Linked DNA regions of Homo sapiens: region 1 is linked to region 2. The links are contacts of gene promoters, found by promoter capture Hi-C in human tissues and cell types (Jung and others, 2019). All regions are on one chromosome and are shown on one strand. Each heading gives the region's core, a stretch centred on a gene start or on the middle of the fragment in contact. The rest is flanking DNA. Distances are from core to core; before and after follow the strand shown. Region 1 has its middle 48 kb from the start of CCDC63. Region 2 holds the start of CCDC63 (coiled-coil domain containing 63).

Region 1 (5,745 bases), core at 2,936-5,435, 49 kb after region 2:
CTGATATTTTTGTTTAAATAAATTCATTTTTAAAAGAAGCCACTGATGAGTCCTATACATAGATGATCCTCATCTTTTCCGTTGGCTCTTGCCCCTTCTTTCCACCACACTCAATCCTGTCTATTATCAGGGGGATTGAGAGAACCCAATGCCACCACCTCCAGGAAGCCCCCCACCAGTGGCATGCGACCCATGCAGTTGCATAGGACTCTACCCTTAGAAGGATCTCATGCTTGCCCTTAGGATGCCTCATATGATCTACTGTCAGCATTTGGAAATTCTTAGTCATTGGTAAACAAGGGGCTATGCATTTTCTTTCTGTAAATGGCCCCACAAATTATGTCGTTCTCCTGCCTCTAACCATAGAGTCTTTCAGTTCCCATCGGCTTCCTGAGGTGGCAGCTTCCTACCTGGAAGATGAGCTGACCCAGGGCAGGGTCCCATCTCACACAGCCCAGACCTCGGGGTCCAAGCTTGAATCTCAGCTCCATTTACCAGGTGAGTAAGCTTGAGCCAGCCTGCCCTGACAGCCACAGGACCCAGGACAAGAGTATGAAGGGAGGTTCACAAGTACATGCCACCACACCAGCTAAACATCTTCATGGGATAAATCAAGCTTACAGTTGTCAAATAAAATGCATTTAACTTTCTTTTTTATGTATTTCTTTTTTATGAGACGGAGTCTCGCTCTGTCACCCAGGCTGGAGTACAGTGGTGCGACCTTGACTCACTGCAACCTCCACCTCCCTGGTTCAAGTGATTCTCCTGCCTCAGCCTCCTGAGTAGCTGGGATTACAGGTGCCTGCCACCATGCCAAGCTAATTTTTCTATTTTTAGTAGAGATGGAGTTTCACCATGTTGCCCAGGCTGGTCTTGAATTCCTGGACTCAAGCAATCTGCCCACTTTGGCCTCCCAAAGTGCAGGGATTACAGATGTGGGCCACTGTACCCAGCCAATTTGTTTAATGTTTCTAAATGATCCTCTTGTTGTGGTAGTTATATATTGCTGCCTAACAAATTACCATAAATTTGGCAGTTTATTTACTATCTCACCATTTCTGTGGTCAGGAATCCAGAAATGGCTTAGTTGGGTCCTCTGCTGCAGGGTCTCATAAGGCTGCAATCAAGGTGTCAAGCCAGGGCTGGGGTCTCATCTGAGACTCGCCTGGGGAAGGATCTGCTTCTAAGGTCATACAGTTGTTGTGCATCCAGTTCAGGCTGTCAGACTAAGTGCCTCAGTTTCTTGCTGGCTGTTGGCTGGAAGTCACCCTCAGTTTCTAAGCACATGGGCCAACTCCTCTGGTGGCTTACTTCATCAAAGCCAGCAAAGAAGAACATCAATTGGAAGAGTCTGCATGTAAGACAGCAGTTACAATCCTCTGCCATGTAGTCACAGATGTGAAATCCTATTACCTTTGCTGCATTCTATATGCTAAGAGCAGGTCCCAGGGCCCTCCCATACTCCAGCAGAGAGGATTACACAGGGGTGTGAATGCTAGAAGGCAGGGATCACTGGGGAGCATTTTAGAATGTGTCCCCTACAGTTGTCTTGTGCAGTTGTGCAAAGATTACACTAATGTGTGAGGACTTCCAGAACCACAAAGTGGAACACAGAAAGAAGGCTGTCTCAGTCTGGAGTGCAGTGGCGCAATCTCAGCTCACTGCAACCTCTGCCTCCTAAGTTCAAGCAATTCTCATGCCTCAGCCCCCTGAGTAGCTGGGACTACAAGTACATGACACCACAGCAGCTAATTTTTGTATTTTTAGTAAAGACAGGGTTTTATCATGTTGGCCAGGCTGGTCTTGACTTCCTGACCTCAAGTGATCCTCCCACCTCGGCCTCCCAAAGTGCTGGGATTGCAGGCATAAGCCACCACGCCCAGCCAGAGAGGGAGAATTTGGTAAATTAATTCACTGGTCTTTGCTCTTATCTAAGTGCCTCAAATTCTTAAATTATCCTTGCCCCCTATAAGCACATTCATCTCCAACATTGGCAGCAGCCCAACCCATGAACTTTCACTGCATTAGGACACAGTTGTTATTTTGAGGACCTAATCTAAGGGATGTGGAGAAGCTTTTCTCTGGAGTCTAAATCGTATAAGTCATGAGAGTGAAGGTTTTGGACTGTGGTTGTGCCATGATAGTTCTGAGTTCCAGGCTCCAAGTGACAGACTCCAAGTGATGGAGGCCACATGTGTTTTTTAAATAAATTCTTTGTGTGTGTACGTTTGTGATTTTCAGGGCTGCTTGAGTATCCTCACAACATGGCAGCTGGATTTCCCCAGAGCAAGTGATCCAAGAAAGAAAGAGCAAGATAGAAGCCATAATGTCTTTTATGACTCAGACCTGGAAATCACACACCATCATTTCTGCAATATCCATCTGGTCACACAGGTCAGCACTATTCAGTGTGGAAGGGTGCTACACTGTTGTAGTAAGCAGAATTCTAAAACAGTTCCCAAGATCCCACCTCCTGGTGTACATACCCTGTATACTTTCCTCCCTTTGTGTGTGTCAAGACTTATGGGCCGGGTGTGGTGGCTCACGCCTGTAATCCCAGCACTTTGGGAGGCCGAGGCGGGTGGATCACGAGGTCAGGAGATCGAGACCATCCTGGCTAACTTGGTGAAACCCCATCTCTACTAAAAATACAAAAAAAAATTAGCCAGGCACAGTGGCGGGTGCCTGTAGTCCCAGCTACTCAGGAGGCTGAGGCAGGAGAATGGCGTGAACCCAGAAGGCGGAGCTTGCAGTGAGCCAAGATAGCGCCATTGCACTCCAGCCTGGGTGACAGAGCAAGACTCTGCCTCAAAAAAAAAAAAAAAAAAAGACTTATGAAGATAGTGGGTTATCACTCTTACGATTATGTTACATTATAAAGCAGAAGAGATTTTGCAGATGTAATTAAGGTCCCTAATCAATTGAATCTGAGTTAATCAAAAGGGAAAATGCCTCAAGTGGCCTGACCTAATCCAGTAAGCCCTTAAAAGAGGTCAGAGAGAGTCAAAGCTAAGAAGAATTTGGGCTGGGCACAACAGCTCACACGTGTAATCCCAGCACTTTGGAAAGCCAAGGTAGGCGAATCACCTGAGGACAGGAGTTTGAGACCAGCCTGGCCAATATGGCAAAACCCCATCTCTACTAAAAATACCAAAATTAGCCAGGTGTGGTGGCACACACCTGTAGTCCTAGCTACTTGGGTGGCTGAGGCATGAGAATCACTTGGACCCGGGAGGTGGAGGTTGCAGTGAGTGGAGACAGTGCCACTGCACTTCAGCCTGGGTGACAAAGCCAGACTCTACCTCAGAAAAAAACAAAGAAAAGGCTGGGTGCAGTGGCTCATGCCTGGGACCTACTCCTCTCCTCATTCGTTCATTCATTCCACAAACAATTCCTGAACCCCCTACTCTGTTCATGCACAGTGCTGGTTAGTGGGGGCCCAGAAGTGACTCATGTGTTTCCCAATCTCCAGGAGTTCCAATCTGGAGCAGAAAGCATCCCATGGCATTCCTCAACTATTCCCGACATAACCCATATGTAGTTGAGACTCCAGAATCTTCCAAGGACTGGTTTCAGCACATTGTTCCACCCCCAAACCACAAACCTGACCCCTAAAGCATTGACATACAGTACTTTTGCTTAAGTTTCCTAGTGGAGACCAAGGATGATATTTGATATGGTTTGGCTCTGTGTCCCCTTCCAAATCTCATCTCCAATTGTAATCCCCACGTGTTGAGTGAGGGACCTGATGGGAGGTGATTGGATCATAGGGGTGGTTTTCTCCATGCTGTTCTCGTGATAGAGAGGGAGTTCTCACAGATCTGGTTGTTTGATAAGTGTCTGGCATTTCCCCTGTGCTCTCTCTCCTTCCACCCTCATTGTAAGTTTCCTGAGGCCTCCCCAGCCATGCAGAACTGTAAGTCAATTAAACCTCTTTTGTTTATAAATTACCCAGTCTCAGGTAGTATCTTTATAGCAGTGTGAAAACGGACTAATATGGAATTACATCACATATTATGAACTAAATGTTGTCAAACTTTTCTTTTTTGTTAGAGACAGGGTCTTGCTCATGTCACCCAGGCTGGAGTGCAATGGTGTGATCATAGCTCACTGCAGCCTCAATCTCCTGGGCTCAAGTGATCCTCCCACCTCAGCCTCTCAAGTAGCTGAAACCACAGGTACATGCACAGTACCTGGCTTCAGATTTCTGTATTAAACTTCTCTTCTCTCCTTAAGCTGTATTATCCAGGATGTCTTCTCTCCCTCCTCCCTTGCTAAACATCTTCATTATTCCGAGGAGTTTTTTGTTTTCATACTCCACTTGGCACAACAAAAGCCTGGTGATAAGTCAAACCAATGTGGGCATGGATGGAAGAGGGATTGGCCTCCTCAGTTCTGTAGGCAGCCCTGCCCTAACCCTTGTGACCTTGAATGAGGTACCTGCTGTCCCAGTTTCCTGCCCCTTAGGGGAGAACAGCAGCTTCCTGAGCACCCCAGCCAGGCTTCTGAAGTTCTAGGAGGAAGATGTTAGGGAAATAGCAAGTCCAGATCATGACCAGCTCAGGCCCTTCAGAATGAGGGCATTGAAATAAAAGGTCAAAGACCCTGAGGACAGTGGCTAAGATCCAGCTTCCAGAATATCACAGCGACCCCAGTCAGGGCCCCTCCAGGCCCCACTGGGTATGGGTAGAAGCCTGAGCTGTTGGATGTCCCAAGTTACCATTCTTTTTTTTTTTTTTTTTTTGAGACCGAGTCTCGCTCTGTCGTCTGGGCTGGAGTACAGTGGTGCGATTTCAGCTCACTGCAACCTCTGCCTCCCAGGTTCAAGCGATTCTCCCACCTCAGCCTCCCAAGTAGCTGGAATTACAGGCATGCGCCACCACACCCGGATAATTTTTGTATTTTTAGTAGAGATGGGGTTTCACCATGTTGGCCAGGCTGGTCTCAAAGTCCTGACCTCAGGTAATCTGCCTGCCTCAGCCTCCTGAACTGCTAGGATTACAGGCCTAAGCCTCTTCGCCCGGACGACCGAGTCACCATTCTGGAAGCCAGCCCTCCACCCTGAGTGACAACCATCTTCATCACTCTCCTGTCTCCGGAAGGGGACTGTCTTCACTCACTCCCTGCCCAATCTCCTCAGTCTTGAGACTTTAAGGATCACTCATAGGATGACTCATCAGTCTCCTCCCCTGCCTTCACCTTAAGTCCCTGACCATTATCCACCTGCTAACTGACATGTCAGCCGGAAGGTACAATGGCCATAGCAAACCTGCCACGTCCAGAATAGAGAGTCTCCATTTCATCCTCCTCGCTCTCCAACCACCCTCACTGAAACCTACTCCTTCATATTCCCCATCTCGATAAATGGCCCCATCACATCTGCCCAGTTGCTTGAGCCAGAAACCAAGGATTTAACCTTGATTCTTCTCTTGAATCCCCCAACTATAACTCATCGTCATTTTATTGGCTCTCCTTCCAAACATTTCCCCAATCTTTATTTTGTCTCCACGGCTCCCACCTTGGTCCAGCTCACTGCCTTCTCAGACCAGGGTGACTTCAGGAACTTCCTCAACCTGCTCCCTACTCCCTCTCTTGCCACACCACAGCCTACTCTCCACACAGCACCCTGAGAAAGCATGATTCTCCTGCTTAAGCGCTCCACGTTTTTATTTAAAAATTTATTTTATTTTGTATTTTATGGCTTTTTTTTTGTTTTTTTTTTTTTGTTTTTTTAGAGAAAGGGTC
Region 2 (5,970 bases), core at 1,422-3,921:
GCATGGTGGTGGGCACCTGTAATCCCAGCTACTCAAGAGGCTGAGGCAGGAGAATCACTCGAGCCTGGGAGATGGAGGTTGCAGTGAGCTGAGATCGCACCACTGCACTCTAGCCTGGGCAACAGAGTAAGACTCCATCTCAAAAAAAAAAAAAAAAAAGGAAATAAGAGCTTGTTCGTGTTCCTCTCTCCTTCTGCTTTTAGAAATTATTGTGAAGGCATGCATGATGGTTCAGTGGCAACCCTCCCATGACCATGAAGAGAAATATCACCGTCACACCTAAAGACAGCAAAGAGGAAAGACAGGAAAAAATTTAGGTTCTAACTGACACTGTTGGCTACTGCCCCATCCCTGGAACTGCCTACCTCTAGACATCATGTTAGGTGAAATAGCAAGAGTCACTGTTGTTTAAGGCAGTCACCAAATATTTTGTTCATTGAAGCCTAAAGCATTCCTAACTGACATGGTCCATACCTTGAAAATGGTTCTCAGGTTAATGGGTGATAGGAAAATAGTGGCTGGTAATGTAGGAACCTCTGGATTTTCCCTGATGTTTTTGAGGGTTTGGGGGCCAACTGAATTGTCTGATGTTGGGAAATTCCCACAGGCAGGGAAGTGGTATAAGACAATGGTTCTGTATCTTGATCATTTCTGGAAGGGTCCTCCAGGTAGGAGTAGAAGCTGTAGGAGGATTTACCTGACTAACAAGGTTTGGGCACAGGATGCTCTCTCTGGGACCTCTTTCAGCCCTGGAATTTGGGGCAGCTCCAATTTCATATTGTCCAGGAGCTGTTCTATGTTCCAGGGCCCTTTGGGTCCTAAGTGGATTTGTAATGCACCATCTTAATAACATGAACTGGGTATATCTGACCTTCACTGACAGTGTGATTTGACCTCTCTGAGCTTCAGTTTCCTCATCTGTAGAATGGGGATACCCACACCCATATCTCAGCGCAAAATAATGTCTGTAAAGTGGTTAGCATAGTGCCTAGCTCATGACAGACGCTGGGCGAACGTAGCCTGTTTGTGAAGTGGGATTTTCAAGTACCAGTCTGTCTGGCCCATGAGATCATTGGCTGGGTTATGCACCATTCTCCAGGAACCAAAAGCTCCATCACCTCCTGCCTTTTTGCTGATCCATATGCGCATACATAGTCACTCTCCCCTAGGGTGCTGGCTTCTCTTCAGGTTCCAGATGTTAACCCAGGCCTTTCCCTTTCGATCAGTGCCCTCTGGGATGGGCTCCTACATTCCCTGGGGAACAGATCCACCCCCTCACCCCCATCCTCATAGCTTGGCCTGCAGAGCATCTCCTGGATGTCCTGACCCCTGGCTTACCACCCTCTCATTCAAGGGTCTGAAACTCATAGTCCATGGGGCCAATTCAACCTACCTCCAGTTCTGTTCCACAGTGTTTCAAAACATAAATGTGGGTCATGCACTCACTCTCCTGGCCACAGGCCCCACTCCTCCCTATTGGCTAAGCTCCCCTCCCCACAATTCTCACATTTTCTGTAACTGCCTAGAGCCAGTAGGAATTTGAATTTGCAGTTCCTGTTAGGAATCTAAAAGCTGCCCACTTCTGGGGAACAGCGTGTGCGAGGAAAAGTGCAGAGAAGCCCAGCAGCCCAGGTCAGGGGACGTCAGGCAAGGGCCTCCTGCCCCTTGGGCCTCAGTCTATTCACCACAGCATCCATAGTCCTGGGCGCATGGGCAGCTCTTGGCAAATACAGTTTGAATGAATGAAGTTTCCTCCAGGCAGAGATCATCTTCATTTATCTAATATCTAATTAGGCCTGCACCTCATCTGCTTCTGAATTTTAACAACCTGCCTTTAAAAGACAAGCCTGCCCCCGAAGGATTCCCTAGGGACCTTGGGACAGGCAGCTATGTGGATCATATTGAGCCAGGGCTGCACAACCTGGAATTAAACATGTGCTTAGGGCACTAGCCAAACAGGAGCACAGAAACACATACACAGTTTTTTGTTGTTGTTGTTGTTTTTCTTGTTTTTTGTTTGTTTGTTTTGTTTTTTGTTTTTTAAGGATTATTATGGGAGGAAAATAAAAATTTGTTGAACTTTTTTTTTTTCCTTTTTTGAGAGCGTCTCTCTCTCTCTCTGTCACCCAGGCTAGCGTGCAGTGGTTCAATCTCGGCTCACTGCAGCCTCAACCTTCCCGGGCTTAAGCGATCCTCCCCCTTCAGCCTCCCAAGAAGCTGGGACTACAGGTGGCACCACCACGCCCGGCTAAGTTTTTAAATATTTTGTAAAGACGAATTTGCCCGAGCTGGTCTCGAACCCCTGGGCTCAAGCGATCCTCTTGCCTCAGCCTCCCAAAGTGCTAGAATTACAGGCATGAGCCACCTCGCGCGGCTCTGGAGTTATTTTACACACTACAATTTATTTATGCATGATTGCGGGAGACCCTGATACTTTCAACGCTTAGGGCAGCGAGATATGAATGGACTGGGGACCGCGACCGCTCTTTCCTTTTCCCTGGCAGGGGGAGCTGTGGCGCAGCAGGCGCGGCCGGGCGGGCGGCGAAACTTACCAGTGGCGGGGCCCGGACTGCTTGTCCGTGGCTGCTCCGGCCGCTTGTCCGACGGCTGCTGCAACTGCGCTTCCGACGGTGCCGGGAGGACTGCTTGCTGCGCGGCCTCGCTGCGCCACACCCCCAGCCCCACGCCCGGGCGTTCTGGGACCCCTGGAACGGGCGCCTTTGTGACTCGCACAAACATGGACGTTCTCCCCTGCAAGTCCGCTGGGAGGGCACAGGGCCCTCGGGAGGAGAGGACAAGAGCAGCTGGTTGGAGGGAAGCTTTTGGTTGGGGGAGAGGGGCGACACACTCTCCAGCGACCCCTTACCAGACTACCCGGACCCTCATGACGCTAAGTGACTTCTTGAGTCAATCAACAGTCTTAGCCCCTCCCTCGGCCAACGCCATGCAATCGCTGGTCCACCTCGCCCCACTCACACCCCATTCACCGTCTTCTTAGCCTACACCTACACTCATGCTCACAGCAGCCCTGCTAGGTACAGACTTCACACGCAGCTAACTCAAAGGAGCCCAGTTTTTTCTACTCTGAAAAATAAAATAAAGTAAAAATAAATTAAAAAAAAATGTTGGGGCGGGGGGGGAAAGAGATATTTCATGAGAAAAATAACTTCATCAGTGCAGGAGAATTTTCTTCAGAACATCCACCTGACCCCCACCCACTGTGAGCATAACACGGGAACCCAAGTGTGATCCAGGCAAGTGAGCTTTTCACTGCCCTAACGGAGTTTAGTGGTTTAAAGATACACATTTTTCATACAATCGGCCCTGAAACACAAGTCAACTACTTTCTCTGGGGCTAAGCTCTAGAAACAATCACAGAATTAATGGAAAATTATTGGGGGTACCTGTTTTCTACAGTAATTTTGATTCCATGTGATTTCCACTTTAACTCCTAGCCCCCTGAGTGGATTGTAGTAGCTCAGCCCTGCTAAGGTCTCCACTTCATCCGTAAATTCTTGGGACAGGATGTGTGTTTTAGAACTTACCATATTTTGGAGGCCAGGTGCGCTGGCTCATGCCTATAATCCTAGCACTTTGGGAGGCTGAGGCAGGTAGATCATTTAAGGTCAGGAGCTCAAGACCAGCCTGGCCAACATGGTGAAACCCTGTGTATTTCTTTTTTTTTTTTTTTTTTTTTTGTATTTCTACTAAAAATATAACAAATTTAGCCCGGCATGGTGGCACACACCCGGTGGGTGCCTGTAGTCTCTGCTACTCGGGAGGCTAGGGCAGGAGAATTGCTTGAACCCAGGAGGCAAAGGTTGCCGTGAGCCAAGATCACACTCACTCCAGCCTGGGTGACAGAGTGAGACTCCGTTTCAAAAAAAAAAAAAAGAACTTACCATGTTTTTGGTTTCAGAAAGATAATATGGTACGCAAGGGAGTATGTTGCCCCTAATGTTGCTGGCAGCCACGTTGTAACCATGAGGGAAGTCAGTGGGACAGTATATTACATACAGGGTTCGGGCCACACAGTCCAGATCAAACGAATTACTGTTTCTGCAAGGAAACATCAATATTCATGTCAAGTAAGATAAGGATAGATTATGAACAGCTACATGTCAGGCCTTGCCTCCAAATGATTCATATGAAGTGTTTTGGATACACTTGACCATCCTCATTTTACAGATGGGGAAACAGACTTAGAGAAACCGAGTTTTGCAGTCAGTGGAGCAGCCAGGATTTGAACCCAAGGCTCCCTGTCTCTGGAGCCCCACGCTTTTCCACACCCTGACTGAAACCACAGCCCCAAATCTGAGCAGCCCTGCAAGCTGATATCTCCCATCTCTGATATTTAAAGGGCTGCTCCAGCACTCAGCTCCATGCAGAGCCCAATGACTCACACATTTCAAGTGTCAACGACTGAAAAATGATTAAGTTCAATTAGGTTCAGGACTTGTTAAAAATAGACCTTCCTCCGACGAATTTACTCTCTTTGTCTTTATGGGCGCAGCTCTCAGCAGCCGCCATGCAGAGACGTATCAGGCTTTTTTAATTAGAACATGTCAGAATCGATTCTGCTAAAGGGACCTTCTGCTTTATCAGCGGGACTTGGAGCAGGGTGAGATGCCAGCTTGCCAAAGCGATGAGCCAGCGGTGGGAAATGTTGGCGACAGCAGAGCCTCCAGAACACAGGAGGAAATTAGAGCCAAGCCGCAGAGGGACCAGGCAGAGGCATTTGGACGCAGACCAGAAAACTGACAGTCCAAGTGACTCTTTGGTTACAAAAATCAGAAACCCACTCGAACTATCTCAAAATGAATTTTTTTCTTTGGCCTCCTCATCTGTTTCCCTTTCCTTCTTCCCAGCCAATCCCAATTTGTTCAGGTAACAGTCCTTCCCCATTGAGCCTATGTAACCAGGAGCAGTTGAGTTTTACACACACCTCCAAGGTAGATCTCCATTAGTGTTAGCAAATCACAGCCATCCCATCACCTCCTTGCCAATGACTGGGAATCTAAGTTTAAGCCAATTAGTGCATAGCATTCTCCCAGAAACTTCTACTGGTCCAGGAATAGGCGTGCAACTGACAGTGGCCTATCAGACAGAAAGGAAGAACTTGGGGTAGAGGGAGATGCTTTTCTACCCTTATGGATGCAAACAAGAAAGCATGTTGCCCCTCATGTTGCTGACAGCCCTCTGGCAACTATGAGGGAAGCCAGTGTGAGATCAAGGCTAACACACGATGGAGGGAGGAGCCTAGGGAGAATTACAGAACAATGTGGCTGGCACCCTGATCATACCTTGCCTGAAACCCACATTATGAACAATAGGAACTCTGCATTTCCTATTATGTGAATGAATACGTTTCTTGTTTTTTAAGCCAGTGTGGATTGCAGTTTCTGTTTCTTTCATCTAAAGCATGCTGCATCGTATGAATGTTAGGGCTATCTCACAAAGGTTGGAGGCAGATCCCATGAGGAACAAGAACCCAGAACTAGTAAGCTGTCAGAAACCAAGGCAGCTCCTCCCTCTAGCCCTCTCTGGAACCACCTGGTCTCTCAACTTGGCCTCTTTTTTTAAGGACTATTTTCTCTGCTGTCCCCTCTTCCTCCCATCTTGCTTCTTATAAGTTCCCATTTTAGAACTCAGTTTAAAAAAAAAAAATCAATGTCCTCATCTCAACTTCCTCATCTCTTCCCAAGAGATGCTCCAATGTCCTCCTCTCTTCCCAAGAGAATACGATTGTCCTAGTCTAGATTTGATGTCCTGGCCCAATGATGTGGGTCCAGGGGGCCATGGTCAGGTGGTCCCCAACAGGGAATGTGAAAATAATTCTCGCCAGGCGCAGTGGCTCATGCCTGTAATCCCAGCATTTTGGGAGGTCAAGGTGGGTTGATTGCTTGAGCCCAGGAGTTCGAAACCAGCCTGGGCAACATGGCAAGACTCTGTCTCTGCAAAAAATACAAA

Evidence for each region. Contacts are between HindIII fragments. The study calls those that stand out against the background at their distance.
Region 1: a fragment that was not itself captured here is called in contact with the fragment with the promoter of CCDC63 in region 2 in 1 of the 25 tissues and cell types used here (heart right ventricle).

Annotation. Positions count from the first base shown.
Region 1 is chr12:110,796,526-110,802,270 of GRCh38, reverse strand. No RefSeq gene overlaps it. Among named protein-coding and RNA genes, the nearest start is that of CCDC63, 48 kb to the left of the region's middle. The HindIII fragment of the contact is 5,679 bases long and covers 1,346-5,745 here.
Region 2 is chr12:110,843,688-110,849,657 of GRCh38, reverse strand. CCDC63 (coiled-coil domain containing 63) reads right to left here and starts at 2,671. Exons shown (of 12, transcript NM_152591.3): 1 at 2,553-2,671. The HindIII fragment of the contact is 19,678 bases long and covers 1-5,970 here.